2 separate regions of the Homo sapiens genome follow, and region 1 is linked to region 2. The links are contacts of gene promoters, found by promoter capture Hi-C in human tissues and cell types (Jung and others, 2019). All regions are on one chromosome and are shown on one strand. The core of a region is centred on a gene start or on the middle of the fragment in contact, and the rest is flanking DNA. Distances in the headings are between cores, read along the strand shown.

Evidence for each region. Contacts are between HindIII fragments. The study calls those that stand out against the background at their distance.
Region 1: a contact is called between the fragment with the promoter of CNOT6 here and the fragment with the promoter of CBY3 in region 2, in 1 of the 25 tissues and cell types used here (dorsolateral prefrontal cortex).

What each region holds. Positions count from the first base shown.
Region 1 is chr5:180,490,898-180,497,326 of GRCh38, forward strand. CNOT6 (CCR4-NOT transcription complex subunit 6) reads left to right here and starts at 3,482. Exons shown (of 12, transcript NM_001370472.1): 1 at 3,482-3,866. RefSeq lists silencers at 3,222-3,421, 3,552-3,691, 3,862-3,961, 3,992-4,251. The HindIII fragment of the contact is 24,631 bases long and covers 1-6,429 here.
Region 2 is chr5:179,679,320-179,685,391 of GRCh38, forward strand. CBY3 (chibby family member 3) reads right to left here and starts at 1,715. Exons shown (of 2, transcript NM_001164444.2): 1 at 1,554-1,715. The coding sequence starts at 1,599. It also overlaps a transcript of CANX not described here. The HindIII fragment of the contact is 4,632 bases long and covers 1-4,595 here.

The DNA.
Region 1 (6,429 bases), core at 2,232-4,731, 810 kb after region 2:
GTCAGGCCCTTGCTCTGAGACTCCACATCTTCACCAGTGTCTCATCTCTCCATGTGGTGGGGAAGATGGCACTGGCTGCCACCAATTCATGCTGTCCTCGCTTAGCACGTATCAATCCCAGACTGGTCCTGCTTTGGTACTGCCTGACTGCAGTAGAAACAAGGCCCAGGCCAGGCCAGTGAGAGCCTGCCCTGGGTCTTTGGCTGGAATCATTAGGAAAGAAGCACCTTCTCTAAGCGGAGAAGCTGGTAGAATCTAAGCCTGCAGGTGTTGGTGGCATCTTTCCCGCTTGTGAGGCCTGCAGAGAGAACAGGATGGAGGGTGGGAGGTGAGATCGATTCTTGATGCCACCTTACAATGCCTGAATGGTTCAGCATTCCCTCTTTCAATTCAATTCCCTCCTTCTTGCAAAGAAATATTGAGTTGTGAGTTTTATAACTTGCAATGGGAGGTCTGGCCTAACATGAGGGGCACTTTGATCTGGCCTGAAAGGGTGAGTAGGTATTTTGCGGGGTTCTCCTCGGATATGCAGAAAGAAAAGGGCATGCACAGCAGAGCCACTATCGTACCCTCCTGGTGGCAGCAAGTCTCCCCAGAGGGCTCCAATTAGTCCACCCCGCCCTGCATGCACGCGCAGCTCCTCCACAGCTTATGTCCTCTCCTCTTGAATCTGGCTTGGGCTTGTGCCTGCTTTAATTCATAGAATATTGAGGAAGTGGCCTTCTTCAGAAGGCCTGGCAGCTTCGCTTTCCTCTTGGAGCCCCTGGTTGTCATGTAGGAAGTGCAGGATCACCTCCTGCTGGGGAAAGGGGCCACACACAAAGGCTGAAGGATGAGACACTGCGGGGGAGGCCTCGTTAGGGGGCAGCGAGGTGCCAGACATTCAACACCCAGCTGCCACCTTTGGTATAGGCATGAGGCCCCAAGGGTGAACATCAGAATCATGAGATACAGTAAAACTGTTGCTTTATGCTACCAAGATTTTGTGCAACAAGACCTCCCCTCCTCCATACAGTCGTGCCAGTCACAAGGGAATTGCTCCCTCTGTTTTTTGTTTTGTTTTGTTTGAGTTTTTTTTTTTTTTTTTTTGAGACAGTCTTGCTCTGTTGCCCAGGCTGGAGTGCCATGGCGCAACCTTAGCTCACTGCAACCTCTGCCTCCTGGATTCAAGCGATTCTCATGCCTCAGCCTCCTAAGTAGCTGGGATTACAGGTGCCCGCCACTGCACCCAGCTAATTTTTTTTTTTTTTTTTGTATTTTTAGTAGAGACGGGGTTTTGCCATGTTGGCCAGGCTGGTCTCGAACTCCTGGCCTCAAGTCATCTGCCCGCCTCGGCCTCCCAAAGTGCTGGGATTACAGGCGTTGAGTCCCCGCACCGGGCTGAGGTAGCTGCCTCTGGCCAAATTACAAAAAGGCACCCAGGCTGGAGCACAGACGGCCAGGGCACTCACACAGGGAGGAGAGGCCCTGCAGGGTGTCTGTCCCATTGGCCCCTCAGCCTGGGATACTCTGTACAGCACAGGGCCGCACAACTCCCTGCTGTACAGGAGGAGGTTGTGGAGGGATGGCCACAGGCAGCTTACTGGTCTACATGTGTTCTTCCTGACTCCTAAACTTCTGCACTGCTCTGTCTTTGCCCAGTGTCCTATGGCGCTAGAGGCCTGGGCTGTCACTCCTGATGTCATGGCAGTGCCAAGCGATGACCATCCCAAGGCCGTGCTGGGGAGAGGGGGATCATCTTCACCTCTGAACAGCTTTTGTCCCTCATCCTTTCCTTGCCCTTCCAGCCAGGTCTCCTCCACCCCAGGCAACAGCAACCCATTTCCCACATCCCCAGCTCTCAACAGCCTTCACTGAAGCAGAAGCCTCGGTTTGTTGCTACTGTTAGTTCCTGGAACCTGTCTCACTCTCATTTCTTCAGGGTTGATTTTCCAGGAAGCAGTTAGCAGCCTATCCTAGTTTGCCACATAGGTGGGCAGGCAGCTTTCCTTTTCCTTCACGCCTTCAACATATAGCTCAAATTTTTTTTTTTTTTTTGAGACAGGGTTTCGCTCTTGCTGCCCAGGCCTGAGTGCAATGGTGCGATCTCCGCTTACTACAACCTCCGCCTCCCAGGTTCAAATGATTCTCCTGCCTGCCTCAGCCTCCCGAGTAGCTGGGATTACAGGTGCAAGCCACCAGACCTGGCTAATTTTTTGTACTTTTAGTAGGGACGAAGTTTCGCCATGTTGGTCAGGCTGTTTTCCAACTCCGGACCTCAGGTGATCTGCCCCCCTCGGCCTCCCAAAGTGCTGGGATTACAGGCGTGAGCCACCGCGCCCGACCAATATACCTCCAATATTAAGTCTGTTGGGTGTTATTCTTGCCCCTAGACTGTGAGCTTACTCAGGGCTGGGTGGGGTCTGATTCATCTCTGTGCCCTGACCATCAGTCAACTAATATTTCTTGATGTAAGCATCATGAATCAGCCCAGTCATTTCTCTGCTGACCTTCAAACACCAGAGTTTGCCCTGAACACCTTTTGATCTTGGAGCACAGCAGCTGCTGTCCGTTACCCAGGCTAGGACCCCAGCACCAAAACTGTCCATTAATGTAATGGAATGAATTACCATTAATAGGCTGAAGTGGTATGTTAACTTACTCTTCTTTGTATAATTGAGGAAGGAATAATATTCGACTGTTCACGATTGAATGTCTTGTCTTTAGGCAGATCAAGATACTGGCTCCGGTCAAATACTGTGTTTCGACGTGATTGACAGGCGAAGGCTTAAGGAAAAGGAAGAGGAGAAAAAAAGGGGAGGACGATCAAGGAAAAGAGGAGATAAAAGTGGACAACCCAGCCGGGCGCGGTGGCTCACGCCTGCCATCCCAGCACTTTGGGAGGCGGAGGTGGGCGGATCACGAGGTCAGGAGATGGAGACCATCCTGGCTAACACGGTGAAACCCCGTCTCTACTAAAAATACAAAAAATGAGCCGGGCGCGGTGGCGGGCGCCTGTAGTCCCAGCTACTCGGGAGGCTGAGGCAGGAGAATGGTGTGAACCCGGGAGGCGGAGCTTGCAGTGAGCCAAGATCGCCCCACTGCACTCTGGCCTGGGTGAAAGAGCAAGACACCGTCTCAAAAAACAAAAAAAAAGTGGACAACCTGGGGCGGAAAAAGAAGTAGATGAAAAATGGAGGAGCGCTAAGGAGAGGAGAAAACAGAAGTGCCAAGGCAGGAAAGGAGCGAGGAGAGCGGGAACAGAAGGAGACGAAGGATGGACGGAGAGGAAGGGATGGAGGGCGGCAGGCAGGGAGGCAGGGCCCGCAGCGCGCCGGGCCGGTCCACCGCTCTCCAGCGCGGGGGTAAGGGGGCGGGGCCTGGGCAGCTGCGTGCCGGGAGCGACCCCCGCACCGAAGGGCGGATGGTTGTGCCCGGCGACGGCGCCCAATGAGCGGCCAGGATGTTGGAGCGCCGGCGGCGGTCCGGGCGCTCGCTGGCTGAGGGACGGCGGCCGCCGCCATGATGCTTGTTTGCTTTCAATGAAAACGAGGGGGGCGCGGAGGAGGAGGCGGCGGCGTCGGTGGCGGCGGCGACGGCGGCGCGGAGGCGAAGGCAGCGGCGGGCGCAGCGAGGAGGGCGAGGCCGGGGGCCGAGAGGGCGGGAGGGCGTAGTGGCGGCCCGTCGGGGCGGCTGAGGCGGGCAGCCGAAGCAGTGGCTCTCGGAGGGGGAACAAAGAGCAGCGACTAAGGCGGCAGAGGAGCGGCGGCGGTGGCGGCGCTGCAGCAGCGGGCGGGACTGGTATGGTGGTTCCACAGGGCAGACCCCGCTGCACTCACAGGGAGGAGGAGGCGGCAGCGGCGGAGGAAGGCGGCGCACCCCGAGAGGTGAGCGAGGCAGGCCGGAGGCCCGGTCGGGGCGCCGCTCCTCTCTCCGGCCGCGCACGGACCGCCCCCCGTCGGCCGGGCTCGGTCGCGGGCAACTTTCGTTTCGTGGGCGGCGGTCCCGCTGCTCCGCAAGCTGGCGGCTGTTGGGGGCCCCTTCGACGCGCCGCGATCGCGCCCCGCCCCGGGCCGCGCCCCCGGGCCGAGTCCCTGGGAGGGGGGCGTTGATTGACGGCGGCGGCGGCGGCGCGCAGAGGGGAGAGGGTCGGCGCTGGGCTCCCGGATCCCGGCCGGTCCCGGCTGCCGTCGTCGGAGGAGGCGAGTCCGTGTCCCGGGACTCGTGGCCAAGATGGGTGGCAACTTTTGAGAAGCGCCTCTGTGGGTGGCGCGCTGTGTGGAGTGTGGAGCTTCGCGCTCCGTGGCCACAATTACTGTCAAGCGGGAAACCAACTGCTTACCCCCTCCCCTAAAATGTTTTTAAAATTCAGTTTAACGCAGATTTTGAGGGAGAGGACGGGGTGGATTACAGGTTAAAGAAGCACTTGGCATGCAATGAGGATGCTTATTTTATAGTATTGCGAAGGATTCGGAGATTGTACTGGTTTCTACAAGCAGTTTTCTCTGGTAACCCAAATTGCATCCCTCCTTTTTGTTTTTCAGCACTAATCGCTATTTTCTTTGGAAACTTCCTTTGATTCTTTACCTCCTTCACCTTCCCCGAAGAGCCTGCTAACCAACACCTGTGGCCTTCTGTTTTTAACTGTTGTTGCCATTGACAGCGTTGTGAATGGTCATCTCGCTCGAGCTCTTTGGATTTGTTGTTACTGTGTAAGCTGATGTGTTTTAGATAATCTGCTTCAATTTGAGTTCCCATACTTACCTGTTTTCCAGGTGGATTGTCTCATTGTTAGTGCTGAATCTTCTTGCCTACTTGTATCTGGGAATTTAACTTTGAAGAGGAAGAGAGTGAATATGAATAACTGAAAAATAAAATGGTGTGTAGTAGCACTTTGTATTTTTTACAATATACTAGAATTTACTACTCTAGAACAGATTAGTAGGCTGTAGGAGTGGACGTGGGCCATTGATCAAAAGGGTTTAAAGGCTTTTTTGGGGAATTGCTGTTAAGACATTTATCACAGTCTTTATTTAATTTATTTATTGTTTTTGAGACAGGATCTCACTCTGTCACCCAGGCTGGAGTGCAGTGGCACAGTTCTCGGCTCACTGCAGCCTTCGCCTCCTGGGTTCAAGCGATCCTTTTGCCTCACCCTCCTGACTAGCTGGGACTACCGGCAGACACCACCACGGCTAATTTTTTAATTTTTTGTAGAGCCTTGCTCTGTTGCCCAGGCTGGTCTCCGACTCCAGGGCTCAAGCGATCTTCCTTCCTTGGCCTCCCAAAGTGCTGCAATTACAGGCATGAGCCAACATGCCTGGCCATCACAGTGTTTAGAATGTGATGACTTTTAGAGTAAAATTTAGAATAAAAATTGCTTAATATCTTTAGATCTGTGATCTACTCCAGGTGTTTTGCTTTAAACAAAATACATGAACAGCTGCTAATGAGAAGACAGACCTTTCTAGGTGGAGGTGACTTGCCCATGGTACTGTAATGAGGAGGGAAAGGACCGGGTTTGTGTGCGTGTGAGAGCGCATGAGTGTGCGACCTAATCGCTAGAGGTTTGTTCTTTTGGGAGGAGGGAGGGTATGTTAATGGTTGGAAGTTATTTCAGGTCACTTCTCAGTCGATGAACGAGATGCTGAACGAAATGATCAAAAAAGATGATGCAATTGCCAGGCATGGTGGCTCACCGTGTAATCCCAGCGCTTTGGGAGGTTGAGGAAGGAGGATGGCTTGAGCCCAGGTGTTTGAGACCAGCAAAACCCTGTCTCAGAAAAATATAAAGTAACATATATAAAGTCTGTGATAACTGTCACAACGTAGTGAGACCTTGTCTTGATCACTTTATAAAAACGGTGACGAAAGACAGATTTTCTTGTGAGACTGAAGATTTTCTCTGAAAGTCAATCATTAGGTAATTTCCATAGTGTCTTGATAGTGGTGATGCAGCCCAAGCGGCTCCTCTTGAATGCCTGTTCAATTTGTAGGTATTTTCAGGTTGCTTAAATGTTGTTGGCAAAGTAAAACTACAATTATTGGGAAATTTCAAACTTTTGAGCAGACATAAGGTTGGTTTATAGAACTTGGTCCTAACTACAAATGTGTAAAGGCGTTGTAGGAATTTGCCCACTGTACATGTAGTTTAAAAGTATGCATTTTATGCCAGGCGCGGTGACTCACGCCTGTAATCCCAGCACTTTCGGAGGCCGAGATGGGTGGATCACCTGAGGTCAGGAGTTCGAGGCAAGCCTGGCCAATATGATGAAACCCTGTCTCTACTAAAAATACAAAATTAGCCAGGTGTGGTGGCGCATGCCTGTAATCCCAGCTATTCAGTAGGCTGAGGTGGGAGAATGGCTTGAACCTGGGAGGCAGAGATTGCAGTGAGCCAGGATCACGCCACTGCACTTCACCCTGGGCAACGAGTGAAACTCCGTCTCA
Region 2 (6,072 bases), core at 465-2,964:
CCGCGAGGCCGGCGGACATGTCTTAGCCCTGCAGCTACGGCTGCGGCTGTGTCTCACCAGCTGCTGGCCACCGAGGAGCCCGTCGTTCCACGCTGCACAGGCAGCAGTCTCACCTAAACCATCTTCCCCAAAGACCACTGAGGATCAGGCCCTGGGATACATATGCAGATGAAGGACGGGAGGAGGGCCTTGTTCTGAGTTGCAGCTGGAAGGGTGAGGGGTAGGGAATGGTAGCAAGACAAGTAAGTAGGTACTTAAAGGAGGAGTAGGACTTTGCCAGGTGGGTTGAGGATGGAAAATGGAGAACTTCTAGGCAGAGGGAAGAGCCGAGCAGGGCTTTCTTTTTCTTTTTTTTTGAGACTGAGTCTCGCTGTCGTTGCCCGAGCTGGAGTGCAATTGCGCGATCTTGGCTCACTGCAACCTCCACCTCCCGGGTTCCAGCAGTTCTCCTGCCTCAGCCTCTTGAGTAGCTGAGATTACAGGCGCCTGCCATCACCCCCACCTGATTTTTGTATTTTTAGTGAAGACGGGGTTTCACCATGTTGGCCAGGCTGGTCTCGAACTCCTGACCTCAGGTGATCCACCCAACTCGGCCTCCCAAAGTGCCCGGATTACAGGCATGAGTCACTGCGCCTGGCCTTTTTTTTTTTTTTTTTTTTTTTTTTGTATTTTTAGTAGAAATGGGGTTTCACCTTATTGGCCAGGCTGGTCTCGAACTCCGGACCTCAGGTGATCTGCCCGCCTCAGCGCCAAAGTGCTGGGATTACAGGTGTGAGCCACTGTACCCGGCAGGGCAGGACTTTCATATTTCAGATGTGAACACGAGCTTGGATAGGATTGGTGCTGGGAAGAGCAGAAGAGGAAGCTGGGAAGGTGGACCAGTGCACTATGTGAAGGTGCCCTACAGGCAGGCTCGGAAGCTTAGACTTCCTTTTGTGGGTAAGAGGGAACTGCTGAAGGATTAGAAAGCCGGGGTTAGATCTGGATTCTGAAAGCAATCTGGGAGGATATCTAGCATAGCCAACAGCATTATTGCCCTCATCATTCAGTCATTTGATAGACTTGAACTAGCATCTGCTCTGTGCCAGACTCTGGTCTTGGGAAGGGGACCTGAAACAGCCTCTGCCTGCCCTCAAGGTGCTCCTAATCCAGCTTGGAAGACAGATGCGTGTATAGACCACAGTCCAGTGTGTTCACTGACATCCTGGGGTGTGTGCCATGGGCTAGACCTATGCATAGGGCTCAAAGTATCAGGGATTGTGCACACTAAACATGACTTTTATTCCAAACAAACTGTGCCCTCAGGAAGTCCAAAGTCCAGATAACAGACAAGTCCCATTTTGCTCACTTCTCTCTGCACCCCCCACCCCTGCCCAGTAAGTGCTGATTCTATTATGTGAAAAAGGGAGCTATGTGTTGTTTCTAATTCCTCTTCTGCCCATGGGCAGTGAGAAGAGAAAGAACTAGAGCAGGGTTCCCTCTGTTATGCCTTCGTTAATTCATAATACACTTATCCCTCACATATAGGTGGACAGAGGCTGGATGGTACATACCATCCCCAAGATCTGGTTCAGGGAGATGGTCTCTGGAAGCCCACATCCAGGCCCACCCTTGAGATTGTATCTTCTCGGAGGATGTTTCCCCGTTAGTCCTCACTGTATGTTGTGCCTCACCTGGAAGATGGGGTGGAGTTGCTGAGCTGCTGTCCCAGGGCTAGTCCCATCTCTGACCCACTCAGCTCTTGTCCACCTGCTATGACTCACAATGCCTCCAGGCCAGGCCACCCCAGGACAAGAAGGGGTGCTGACCGCTGAGCTGTCAGATAGACTCTGGGCTCTCCCCTGCATGCATTCAGTGCATCATTGAGCACCTACTGTGTTCTAGGAACAGTTCTAGGGAAGTGAAGAACATATTCCCTCACTGAGCTGTCATTCTTGGCAGGGGAATGAAGGGAGTGATCATAAGCAGAGTCCAAGACAGGAATTTGTTCTAGGGGAACTAACAAGATAGTCTCTCAGGAAGCTAACAGAGCGTGTCATGGGTCAGGTTCCCTAGAAGCAGAGCCTAAGCTGAGCATTCTTGTTCAAGTGAATTATTGGGGAAATGCTCTCAGGAGAAGGGGGTGAGGGAAGCAAGACAGGGCGAGAAAAAGGCTAAGGCTGAGCCAGAGTGTGGTCTCACGTGGAGACTAGCTTCCGCTTGCTCTCATGGGGAACTCTGAGCACAAATGGCACCACAGTTAGGCCTCCTTAAAGCAAGGGAGCCCGTCTTTTGTACCCTCCTTCTACATGTCAGTTATTGGCCAGGGCAGCTGAGAGTTACCAGCCAGCTCCTACAGCACCTATGGGATGGGTGCACCACCAGTGATAGGGATCTCAGTAGGGCGCCAGCTGAGGAGGGAGGAAGATAATAGGATAGATGATGAAAATGAAAGGGCAGACTAGCCAACATGGCAAGACCCCATCTCTACAAAAACAAATTAGCTGGGCGTGGTGGCATGCGACTGTAGTCCCAGCTACTCAAGAGGCTGAGGTGGGAGGATCACCTGAGCCCAAGAGGTGAAAGCTGCAGTGAGCAGTGATTGTGCCACTGCACTCCAGCATGGGCGATAGAGACCCTGTGTTTAAAAAAAAAAAAAAAAAAAAGAGGGCCAGGCGCGATGTTTCATGCCTGTAAATCCCAGCACTTTGGGAGGGGAAGGTGGGTGGATCACCTGAAGTCAGAAGCTCGAGAACTGCCTGACCAACATGGTGAAACTCCGTGTCTACTAAAAATAGAAAAAATTAGCCGGGTGTGGTGGCGGGTGCCTGTAATCTCAGCTACTCAGGAGTCTGAGGCAGGAGAATTGCTTGAACCTGGGAGGCAGAGGTTGCAATGAGCGAAGATTGTGCCACTGCACTCCAACCTGGGCAACAAGAGCGAAACTCCATCTCAAAAAAAAAAAAAAGGAATGATTAAATTAATAAGAATATCCAGGCCGGGCACGGTGGCTCACGCCTGTAATCCCAGCACTTTGGGAGGCTGAGGCAGGCGGATCATGAGGTCAGGAGATCGAGATCATCCTGGCTAACATGGTGAAACCCTGTCTCTAATAAAAATACAAAAAATTGGCCGGGTGCAGTGGCTCACGCCTGTAATCCCAGCACCTTGGGAGGCCGAGGCAGGCAAATCACCTGAGGTTGGGAGTTTGAGACCAGCGTGACCAACATGGAGAAACACCATCTCTTCTCAAAATACAAAATTAGCCGGGCATGGTGGTGTATGCCTGTAATCCTAGCTACTTGGGAGGCTGAGGCAGGAGAATCGCTTGAACCCAGGAGGCAGAGGTTGCAGTTAGCCGAGATCACACCACTGTACTCCAGCCTGGGTGACAGAGCGAGACTCTGTCTCAAAAAAAAAAAAAAAAAAACCCTAATTCTGATACGTACAGTGAAGAAAACAAACCAGGGAAATACAGAAAGTGATTTTGGGACAGGGTGAGGAGTAGGAAGTAATTTAGATGTGGTGCTCGGTGAAGGCCCTTGACATTCTTGCTAAAACCTGAACAATAAGGAGACCCCAATCCCTTGAAGACCTGGGGGTAGAGGAGGGAAGTGGCTGGGCATGTTTGAAGGACACGTGCCACGTGTGCGGACAGTGGAAGGAAATGACGTCAGTCCTACCTACTAAGCCCACCCACCTGACTGCAAGGGACAGACCCAGATCCACAGGAGCTCACAAGCTGGGGCAGAGCCCGGTGGTGGTGCCACCTCCTAGGAAACTTCTGTAATAGTTTTATTGAGGTATAAGTGACAAAATCAACTACATTTATTTATTTATTTATTTTTGAGACGGAGTCTCGCTCTGTCGCACAGGCTGGAGTGCAGTGGCGCTACCTCAGCTCACTGCGACCTCCACTTCGAGGTTCACACCATTCTCCTGCCTCAGCCTCTCAAGTAGCTGGGACTACAGGCACCCGCCACCATGCCTGGCTAATTTTTTGTATTTTTTTTTTTAGTAGAGATGGGGTTTCACCGTGTTGGCCAGGATGGTCTCGATCTCCTGACCTTGTGATCCGCCCACCTCAGCCTCCCAAAGTGCTGGGATTACAGGTGTGAGCCACCGCGCCCGGCCAACTACATATATTTATAATGTATAATGTGAAGTATTTCGATAATTTGTTATGTGAAATCATTCCCAAAATCAAGATAATGTATCCATCTGGAGGTATCCATTACCTTTTTTTCTTTTTTTGAGAGGAGTCTCACTTTGTTGCCCAGACTGGAGTGCAGTGGTATGATCTTAGCTCACTGCAACCTCTGCCTCCTGGGTTCAAGTGATTCTCCTGTCTCAGCCTCCCAAGTAGCTGGGATTACAGGTGCCTGCCACCACACCCAGCTAATTTTTGTATTTTTAGTAGAGATGGGGTTTCACCATATTCACCAGGCTGGTTTCAAACTCCTGGCCTCAAGTGATCCATCTGCCTCGGCCTCCCAAACTGCTGGAATTACAGGTGTGAGCCACCGCGCCCAGCCTCAGTATAGATTTTTTTTGGCATTGGCTTCTCGCCGCATAATTATTTTAAGATTTATCCATGTTGTTGCATTTATTAACAGTTCATTGCTTTTTATTGCTGAGTAGTATTTCATTGTATGGAAACACCACACAATTTGTTTTTCCATTCAGCTGTTGATGCACATTTGGGTTGTTTCCAGTTTGGGGGCTATTGCAAATAAAACTGCTCTGAACATTTTTGCTCATCTTTGTGTGGACATATGCTTTCATTTCTCTTAAGTAAACACCTAGGAATAGAATGACTGTGTCATATGGCAGGTGCATGTTTACCTTTTTATTAAGCCACTAACAGTGAGTGAAAGTTTCTGTTTCTCTGTATCCTGGCCAACACTTGGTTTGGTAAACCTTCATTTTTAAAAAATTCGCTTAATTAAAGGTGGTGGTGGCGTTTTTGAGACGGGGTCTTACCGTGGTGCCTAGGCTGGTCTCAGACTCCTGGGCTCAAGGGATCCTCCCACCTGAGCCTCCCAAAGTGCTAGGATTACAGGCAGGAGCCACAGGGCCCAGCTAGTAAGCCTTTTTTTTTTTTTTTTTCAGCTCACTGCAAGCTCCACCTCCCGGGTTCACACCATTCTCCTTCCTTAGCCTCCTGAGTAGCTGGGACTACAGGTGCCCGCCACCACGCCCGGCTAATTTTTTTGTATTTTTAGTAGAGACGGGGTTTCACTGTGTTAGCCAGGATGGTCTTGATCTCCTGACCCCATGATCCACCCACCTCGGCCTCCCAAAGTGCTGAGATTACAGGCTTGAGCCACCGTGCCCGGCCAAGCCTTTTTAATTTTAGCCATAGTGGTAGCGTGTCTAAATTGTGGGGTTTTTGCTGTTGTTTTGTTGTTGTTTTAAATTTTTAACAGCAAGCTCATCCTTAATAAATTTATTTTACTTATTTATTTATTTTTTGAGATGGAGTTTCACTTTTGTTGCCCAGGCTGGAGTGCAATAGCATGATCTCAGCTCACTGCAACCTTCACCTCCTGGGTTCAAGCAATTCTCCTGCCTCAGCCTCCTAAGTGGGATTACAGGCGTGTGCCACCACACCTGGCTAATTTTGTATTTTTTTTTTTTTTTTTTTTTTTTTTTTTTACTAGAGACAGGGTTTTCACCATGTTGGCCCTGCCGGTCTTGAACTCCCGACCTCAAGTGATCCATCTGCCTCTACCTCCCAAAGTGCTGGGATTACAGGCTTGAGCCACTGTGCCCGGCCTTAATAAATCTATCTATTTATTTACTTATTTAATTTTTGGAGGCAGAGTCTCGCCCTGTCACCCAGGCTGGAGCGCAGTGGCGCAACCTCGGGTCACTGCAACCTCCGCCTCCTGGGTTCAAGCGATTCTTCTGCCTCAGCCTCCTGAGTACTTGGGATTACAGGCACACGCCACCACATCTGGCTAATTTTTTTGTTTATTTGTGTTTTTTTTGAGATGGAGTTTCACTCTTGTTGCCCAGGCTGAAGTGCAGTGGTGCAATCTTGGCTCACTGCAACCTCCACCTCAGCCTCCCGTGTAGCTGGGATTACAA